3 separate regions of the Homo sapiens genome follow, and all the other regions are linked to region 1. Evidence: promoter capture Hi-C in 16 types of primary human blood cells and fetal thymus (Javierre and others, 2016). All regions are on one chromosome and are shown on one strand. The core of a region is centred on a gene start or on the middle of the fragment in contact, and the rest is flanking DNA. Distances in the headings are between cores, read along the strand shown.

Region 1 (2,995 bases), core at 226-2,725:
TCCAGATAGAGACTGATTCCTTGGAAGTAGCTCTTCACAGCATTAGGGAGTTGTCATGGCCTGAGAGAGCCCTTCCACCCCTAACTCATTCAACAAGCAGGGCTCCAGGACTTCCCAATGCTGATAAAAATTCAGTGAATAATTTCTCCAGGCCAGTTTCATTCCAACCAACCTCTTGTGTTGAATAAGGTGACAATCTGCTGGAGCACCTTGTGGAGGACAGTGGTAGTCTAAGCCTTCTGAATTTTGCTGCCATCCCTTGGAAACAATAGAAAACATTCAAAACAGATGAACTGCCCATCAACAGGGCACTGGTTAAATAACTTATGATGTAACAACTCAGAAGGCAACAACAGAATTGTTTAAAAATATAAATAAGCCCTCTACACTAATTCAGGAAGATCTTGAAGTGAAAAAAAAAGATGCAGAACAGTGTACATGGTATGCTATCTTTTACATAAAAACGAGGCGAGTGTAAGAAAAACATGACTACATTCTTACTTTGCATATGCATAAAGAACTAGAAGGATTTAAAAGACAGAAACTTCAAAATTTGGAAAATGGAAGAAATTGTGTCAAAGTATACATTTATTTGTATGTCAAAATTTAAATTTACCACTAATTAAAGAAATGCAAGTTAATAAAATACTCACAAAGGGAAAAGTCAGAAGAAGGGAAAGACACAAACATTGTTGGTGATAATATTTTGGAAATATTGTCTTGGATCAGTATTTTACTAAATATTATCCATAACAGGGCTAAAATTTTGCTACCAGATTGTATAAGTTTACTACCGAGTCTATAAAACAATGGAGGATAAGAAGGTACACATTCAGGAACAAACCAATGGGCAAAGGAAACTATAGTATGTATAGTTATTGGAAAATTATGTAGCCATTTTTAAAATTGTGGAAAACAAAGGCATTTCAAGCCAAAAATTTAGAATATATCATTTACATAATAAAGTAACAATCTAGTAAAGACAAATATTTTGCGTTTGAAATTGTAACAAATTTGAAAATATGAACCAAAATTGTAACTGAAGTATCTACTACATAATGTGGGATAACAATTATTGTTTTGTAGAGGAAAAAAAAAATTAAGCATCCAGGTTTCCTCTCAATTTATACAAATGCCGCATTTCACTGTTATTCAAAAAAACAGAAGCTAGGAAGCGTAAAGCTTTGAAAAATTATGCATTTGGGGAACGTAAGAGCTCAGATATGCGAAAAACTTATATCAAACGTGCAGCATAACACACTTGCTTGCACACATTCTGTCCTATTTGGTCCCACATACAAGGCAGCTCTAAGAGGCCGGGCTGGCGCCCACCCCACACAGCTCCGCTTCCCCAACCCTCGCCCTCCCGCCTCCCGGGTACTTCCTCCCCCTTCCCCACCCCCACCCTCCCGCTGACTGACGAGGTCTGGAGGCCGCGCAGCCGCAGTAGCCGCTAAGGCCGCTCCCACCCCGTGGTATCCTGGGACTAGGCTTTTCCGGAAGGAGCGGCTCGGTGTTGGGGCTAGGCCGGTATTCTAGGCCCAAGCCCAGGCCCAGGCCTGTGTTCCCGGCCCTTGCTCAAAGACAGGCCGGTGGCCGCTGCGACACTCTAGGTACAGCGGAGGGCGCAGCGGGCCGTTCGCTGAGGTGTCCGGACCCGCCGCCGAGCGGGCCGTGGAGCCACAGTACGTGGCGGCGCCTCTTCCTTGCCCGAAGCGGAACTGCTGAAGGAGCGGCAGCGCAGGCCGGACGAGGTGAACCAGGTCATTTAACCGCCTTCAGGTGATGAATCATCTGTCTAATAATCAGATTTGAGGTCCACAGCCCTTTGTGGTCCTGCTACAGGGTGATTTTCAGTGGATGACTGACTGGCGTGGCCCGAGGGGTGCCGCAGTGACTGCCTTCCCTTGATAAGGAAACGAGCTTTCTGTTCTTTCTGGACACCTCGTTACCTGTAAAACATTCCGGTTATAACTTCTTTATCCGGCTTGCATCTCTGTGCAAGAGGAAAGCTTTCACATGAAAGTGTCCCTTGGTAACGGCGAAATGGGCGTCTCTGCCCATTTGCAGCCTTGTAAGGCAGGAACCACACGCTTTTTTACCAGCAATACTCACAGTTCGGTGGTATTGCAAGGCTTTGATCAGCTTAGAATAGAAGGATTGCTTTGTGATGTGACCCTGGTACCAGGTGATGGAGATGAAATCTTCCCTGTTCACAGAGCTATGATGGCGTCTGCTAGTGATTATTTCAAAGCCATGTTCACAGGTGGAATGAAAGAACAAGATTTGATGTGCATTAAGCTTCATGGGGTGAACAAGGTTGGTCTGAAGAAAATCATTGATTTTATTTATACTGCAAAACTTTCTCTTAATATGGACAATCTTCAGGACACACTTGAAGCTGCTAGCTTTTTACAAATATTACCCGTTTTGGATTTCTGTAAAGTATTTCTTATATCAGGAGTCTCTTTGGATAACTGTGTTGAGGTTGGACGAATTGCTAACACCTACAATCTTATAGAAGTGGATAAATATGTTAATAATTTCATCCTGAAGAACTTTCCTGCTTTATTGAGTACTGGGGAGTTTCTAAAACTCCCTTTTGAACGACTTGCATTTGTGCTTTCCAGTAATAGTCTTAAGCACTGTACCGAACTTGAACTCTTTAAGGCAGCCTGTCGCTGGCTAAGGTTGGAAGACCCTCGGATGGATTATGCTGCAAAGTTAATGAAGAATATTCGATTTCCACTGATGACACCACAGGATCTCATCAATTACGTGCAGACAGTAGATTTCATGAGAACAGACAATACCTGCGTGAATTTGCTTTTGGAAGCTAGCAATTACCAAATGATGCCATATATGCAGCCAGTGATGCAGTCAGATAGAACTGCCATTCGATCTGACTCCACTCACTTGGTTACATTAGGAGGAGTTTTGAGGCAGCAGCTGGTTGTCAGTAAAGAATTACGGATGTATGATGAAAGGGCACAAG
Region 2 (2,995 bases), core at 285-2,784, 440 kb before region 1:
AGCTCCTCAACCTGCTTCATCATCACATACCACCCAAGGATCCTATCCCAAGAAGGAGGATATACTTAGAATTAATTTTCCACCTTTCCTTTAGAGGCGATGGAACTAATCATCATGTTTCATACTCCTTTTGGCCTCAGTCACCATAGAAGTCCAAGCATTCCAGGTCACCACAGGAACTCTCCTCCATATGTTTCTGTATATCCCTTGATCTGACTCAATCTCCCATTCCTTCCAAAACTGCAATCCCTTCCAATGCAGCTGCTAGAATTCAGGGCTTGGGAAGCACAGTCTCTTTTATTTTCCAACTCTTCTTTGAACAACACCTTCACCTTCTTGCTCTAAGCCCTGGCTCACCACCCAACCCAACCCATATCCTGTTTACCTTCAGCCTTTGCAGGGGGTGGTGGTTTTTGCTCCCACACCCTATGCTTCCAGGTCCTGGAGGTGGGGATAGGAATGTTCCTTATTTCTCATTGTTTTTCTTCTTTCAAAAACCCTTCATCTCCTATCTTCCAAGCCATTCCACTTCATGATGGAAGATTTTAGCAGCTGGCTCATTGCATTTCCTTCTACCATGACTCCTGTCATCATATTTAATGACTTCAAAATTTATGTATGTCATTATTTTTCAAATTTGGCTGCACATTTTTATTACCTCATGATGTTTTAAAAATCCTACCTGTGTTCAGTTCATCCCCCAAGCCAAACAGGTACTGATTTAATTTAGTCAAGGTAGGATTTAGCCACTAGATTTTGTTTTGCTCTAAAAAAAAAAAAAAAAAAAAAAACCCCACAACACCTATGATCTCAATATGCAGCAGGGTTCAGCACTACTTACTTAGATCAGTTTCTCAGTAAGCCTTTTCAATTATTTGACCTTCTGACTCCAACATCTCTTTCTTTCCCCAACCCCATCATGTTCACCCTAGTCATACCCTAGAGTTTGTCATTATAAGTAGCCTCCAATATCTAGTTTTTCATCATTCCACTTTCTGATATTCACAGCATCTCTTTCTGACTCCTCTCTTAAGTACAACATCATTCAAGTAATCCATGGACCCACTCCCAGTCTTTGTCCTAATCATCTCCCTCGCTTTTCTTTACCTTTTTCCCTACTCGTCTTAGATTCCATGGTTTGTCACTATAACTCTTCTCTATGTACCCTCAACTCTTTTGTCCTTCTCTCTCTCCATTATATTTGCCTAGCAAAACCCAAACCCTGGTTATATTTAACTCTGCTTAATCTATATCTGCATTCAGGCAGCTAAATGGGATGAGAGAACAACACACACATTTACTTTACATTTTGGCCACAAATCTCTGGTGGGTCCTCAGCACTTCAATAAATTTTTTATAGTAGAATTCTCTGGTCAGTTCTTTGTCCAGACAACTGTTTGATATCTTCCCCCCTTTTTAAACCTCCAACATTCCCTCCTTGTCTTCACTCTCAGCTGATAACCTAGATTTTTATTTCATAAGAAAATAGAAGTAAGCAGAAGAGAACTACTTCCTTTTCCCTTTACCAAATCTACCAACCTCCTTGCTCCACACCCAAGTGTTCCATCTTCTCTTTGGTCACAGACGATAAACAGCTCCTGCAGCCTGGCTTCTCACCCCCTTCCACCTGTGCCAGGGCTTTACTCCTCTAATCATCTTTTTTCTCCTGAACATGACTCTCCCTTCTTACTGTAGATCATTCCCATCAGCTTACAAATAGACCCCCATCTCAGCAAAACAAACCCAATCCTTTCCTAGACTTCTGGTTGCACTCTAGCTCCAGTTGCATTCCTCAACTCTTCTTCATAGCAAGTTTCTTGAGACTTTTCTGTACTCGCTCTCACTTTCTCACTTCTCATCTCTTTAGCCCACTCAAGTTGGGATTTAGTCCTCATCACTCTCCTGAAATTGCTCTGTCAAAATCACCAGCAATCTCCCTGTTGCTAAGAGCAGCAGTTAATTTTCAATCTTCATTTTATGCAGCCTCACAGCAGATTTGGCACAATCATCATCCACCCTGAAGCATTTTCTTCTCGAGCCCTTCTGGATACCACTATCTCCTAGTTGTTGTTCCATCACACAGCTGTTGCATCCTGGTTTTCTCTGCACACTCTACCTTTCTCAATATTAGAGCACTCCAGCTTGATGTTCTTGCTTGGTCCTGCCTTCTTCACTGCCTGTACTCACTCCCTAGACCATTTCATCCAGGCACATGGCCTCACACAGCATCTTCATGCTGATGATAATCCCCCTCCGTCCTTTCTCCTAAGCTCTAGGTTTAAATATCCAATTGCCTAGTAGGTACATTCATTTGTGTATCTAAGAAGCATAACATGTTAAAACCAAAATTTTTTTTTCTTCTCACATCTGCTCTTTATATGGATTCCCCTTGGCTTATCCATCCCCTAAACTGCACAATCAAATGTCTAGGCACTATCCTTTTTCTTTATTTTCTCAAATTTGACTTTTTTCCTTCTCTTTTCCTTCCTTCCTTCCTTCCTTCTTTCCTTCCTTCCTTCCTTCCTTCCTTCCTTCCTTCCTTCCTTCCTTCCTTCCTTCCTTCCTCTCTCTCTCTCTTTCTTTCTTTCCTTCTTTTTTTTCTTAAAGCTCTTACTCTATCACCCAGTCTGGAGTGCAGTGGCATGGTAACGGCCCACCACAGCTTTATCTTCTCGGGCTCAAGCAATCCTCCCACCTCAGACTCCCGAGTAGTTGAGACTACAGGTATGCACCAGCACACGTGGTTATTTTTTTCTATTTTTTGTAGAGATGGGGTGTCTTGCTATGTTGCCTGGGCTGATCTTGAACTCCTGGGCTCAAGCGATCTTCCTGCCTCAGGCTTCGTAAGTGCTGGGATCATAGGCAAGAGCCATGGTGCCTGGCTCACATTTGGCATATCTATCATCAACAAGTCTTGTCACCTCTACTTCAAAAAGTGCCTTGAATTTGTTAATTCTCACTGTCTCCACTTCTATCATTTTGGTCCACACTATTA
Region 3 (2,995 bases), core at 173-2,672, 420 kb before region 1:
TTATATATTTCTGGGACAAAGGCAAATATATGCAGGCTCCTCAGGTTAACACTGGAATGAGATCTCCTGACAGGAAAAAGGAAGCCAACGTGTTTTAGCAATCGCTTTTCCATAATAAACTGTAATGCTTTTGCAGAAGGTGGGTCCTGACACAAGGCTTTTTGAGGATTAAGTAGATTTTAGTCATCAAGCTTGATTCCAGCTAGGGCTTTGATATGTTTTCTTTATGTCAGATAATATATGTTTTTTTTTTAAAGAAGTATGATTTCTCTAGGGCAGATGTTTGATGGAAATTTATGGGCAAATTAGATCATCACTGAACTGATTTATTCTCTTGGTGTGTAACATTTAAATATTGATTGTGAGAGTCTCTGCCTTCAAAGAACTTATAGGCTAGTTATTGAGACACACAGCAAATTACAATATAATGTTGAAAATGCTATCAGTGCAATGGGAATCCATAGCAAGGGGTGCCTCAGTAAGATACTTGGGGGTAGGGGATAGGAAGACTGCAGCTTGGGCAGCATCTGTGTTGTCCCGGTAAAGGGAAAGTTATTAGTAGGTGAAGGACCTTAAGAGTGAAGCTAACACAGCCTTGGTGCTGAGGTGAAGGGTGCACACAACTAATACCTAATGATATGTGATAAGAAGCGCAGTGAGAAGTGTGGATCAGATTAGATACCTGGAAAATAGTGGAGAACCAGAAATTATTGAAAGATTACTGTTGATCCCAGTGCTCTTCAGTATAGCTTCAATGCACTTTCAAGGAGATCAGTGTGCACATCAACTTCCTTCGTTTGCCTGCACAGAGACTTTCATCTGAGTGGGCCAAAGTTAGACTCAACCATTCAGGGCCTGAGATTCATTTCTTAAGACCAGTGCTGTTCAAGAGAAATATAATATAATGCATGCCATGTGAGCTACATATGCAATTTTTTTTTACCAGTCACATTAGAAAAATAAAAAGAAACAGGTGAAATTAATTTTACTAATATACTTCAACTCAATAGATCAAAATATCTCAACAAGTAATCAACATAAAAATTGAGATGTTTTGCTTTTTGATACTGATATATTTTATATATATGTAGATATATATATAGGTATTTATACTGTCTCCTAAATCCAGTGTGAAGTTTTACACTCACAGCACATCTCAATTCAGATTATTCACACTTCAGATACACAATAGCAACATGTGGCTGGGGGTTACTGACAAATTAAAGCTACCCAGACCACTCCCTGCACAAGAGTATAACTGTGTTTTGGTTCATCTCTTCACCAGTTAAGGATGCCGAATCCTATGATGTCCTAGAAATCATTCTGTTACTCAGGCATTTACTCATTCATTCATGCCCTTGTTCTTAGAACAAACATTTATTGAGCACCTCCTATATGTGAAATACTTCACTGTGAGAAGGGGAACATTGACCATAAAAATGAATAATACCATCTAGTATCAGAAAGAGAGGCGGAAACAAATATTCACAAGATGTTATGACAACAGTAATAAGTGGAGCAGTGAAGCAGTGATTGTCCATGGAATAGGAAGTGGATATGCCAGAGTTTATGCTGGGGTAGGGGTGGGGAAGGGGAGTTGTGGGTGTTTCAAATTAAACTCATACCCTGGAAATTTCAACCTCACAAGAGAGAACCATTGTTGCCTCACCCATAGAAAGCCCCTTCTCATATAAAACCCCACTGAGACAGCATTACTGATAGGATCATGCCAAATCCCAGGGGTGCTAATGTGCAAAGAAGGTTGCAGGACATTGAATTAAGAGGATATGCAAATTTCTATGGGACACTGGGGGGATTCTGAAGGACTTCATTGAAAAGGTGGTATTTTTGTTGCATTTTGAAGGATAAGTTTATCAATTTAAAGAAGAGCATTCTAGGAAGAGGATACAAAGAATACAATGTGCAAAGGCACGTAAGTGGGGAAGGAGGAAATGTATTATGTTTAGTAAACAATAAAGATTCATATAACTGCATCGTAGGGTGGTGTGTGTGTGTGTGTGTGTGTGTGTATGTGTGTAAAGTGGGTTAGACATGTTTGATAATATAGTTTGGGACTATATTTTGATGAGTAATGTGTACTCCATTAAAAAGTTCTCACCCTGTGTTTTAGGGAATTAACATTATTTCTCCCCACAATCAATACTTTCTTCATAGTCAAATTCAAATTTCAGGAAAATCCTTGATTAGAATTATATCTCTTTGGCTTCTCTTCTACCCCTATCTCTTTTTTTCTGGACAACTGAATTTTCAGACATTAATATGAACCAGTGACTGAAAAACATTTCCTCTGTCAACTAATTTATCTTCTTACTGAATGAATAATCAAATTCAATTGGATTAAACAAGCTGTAATACCACTGTCAAAAGCCATTAGCAATATAAGAGCTTCAAGCCATAAAGAACTATTTTTGTATATCTTAGAGTTTTCTTCATGAAAGGAAAAACTCAAACTAAAGGAAATAATGTGTGTCATTACAAGCTCTGAGTCCTTTAGGGTCTTCTCATCAGCTCTGTGGTTTATTTATTTTTTCTTTTCTTTTTGTCAAGATTAAGAGTAGTGCTGTCTACTTGATTATCTCAAAAGTACAATGTTTTCTTGGCAGGATTAAAAACCTGGATGTATCAAAGCTTGCACATTATTCGAATTTTGAAATAAAAAACAATGAGGGGACATAATGAAAACCAAGGAGGAGGGGTGGGGAACTTGATACCCCCTTCTTCCTTTTGAGAGATCATTTTATCCACTTCCTGGAGCTATTGTACCTTCCCTGAAAGAATGACACCTTACATTTCCTAAATTTGTATCTCGGCCAATTTCCTGCAGATATACAGGTAGAGAGGTTGGCTACTGTAATTGACAAGATGTCAGTGACTCATGGGACTGTCAGGAATACAAAACATTGGCAAAGCTACATAAAAACTGTAAATGAGCCATAAATGGACCTACACTTAAACAATCCTACTGCCACTTTCA

The links. The method cuts DNA at HindIII sites, captures the fragments that hold promoters and counts their contacts. A CHiCAGO score of 5 or more calls a contact.
Region 2: a fragment that was not itself captured here is called in contact with the fragment with the promoter of KLHL9 in region 1 in 7 of 17 cell types (non-activated CD4 T cells, naive CD8 T cells, total CD4 T cells and 4 more); the score reaches 9.0 in non-activated CD4 T cells.
Region 3: a fragment that was not itself captured here is called in contact with the fragment with the promoter of KLHL9 in region 1 in 2 of 17 cell types (M2 macrophages and M1 macrophages); the score reaches 6.5 in M2 macrophages.

Annotation. Positions count from the first base shown.
Region 1 is chr9:21,333,884-21,336,878 of GRCh38, reverse strand. It overlaps KLHL9 (kelch like family member 9), which reads left to right and starts at 1,475. Exons shown (of 1, transcript NM_018847.4): 1 at 1,475-2,995. The coding sequence starts at 2,020. It overlaps LOC107987053 (a long non-coding RNA gene), which reads right to left. Exons shown (of 3, transcript XR_001746634.2): 3 at 1-258. RefSeq lists a silencer at 1,286-1,455 and enhancers at 1,496-1,805, 1,996-2,045. The HindIII fragment of the contact is 830 bases long and covers 1,185-2,014 here.
Region 2 is chr9:21,775,187-21,778,181 of GRCh38, reverse strand. No RefSeq gene overlaps it. Among named protein-coding and RNA genes, the nearest start is that of MTAP, 26 kb to the left of the region's middle. The HindIII fragment of the contact is 3,504 bases long and covers 1-2,995 here.
Region 3 is chr9:21,754,835-21,757,829 of GRCh38, reverse strand. The region is part of intron 1 of LOC107987026 (a long non-coding RNA gene); the gene reads left to right. Among named protein-coding and RNA genes, the nearest start is that of MTAP, 46 kb to the left of the region's middle. The HindIII fragment of the contact is 2,458 bases long and covers 194-2,651 here.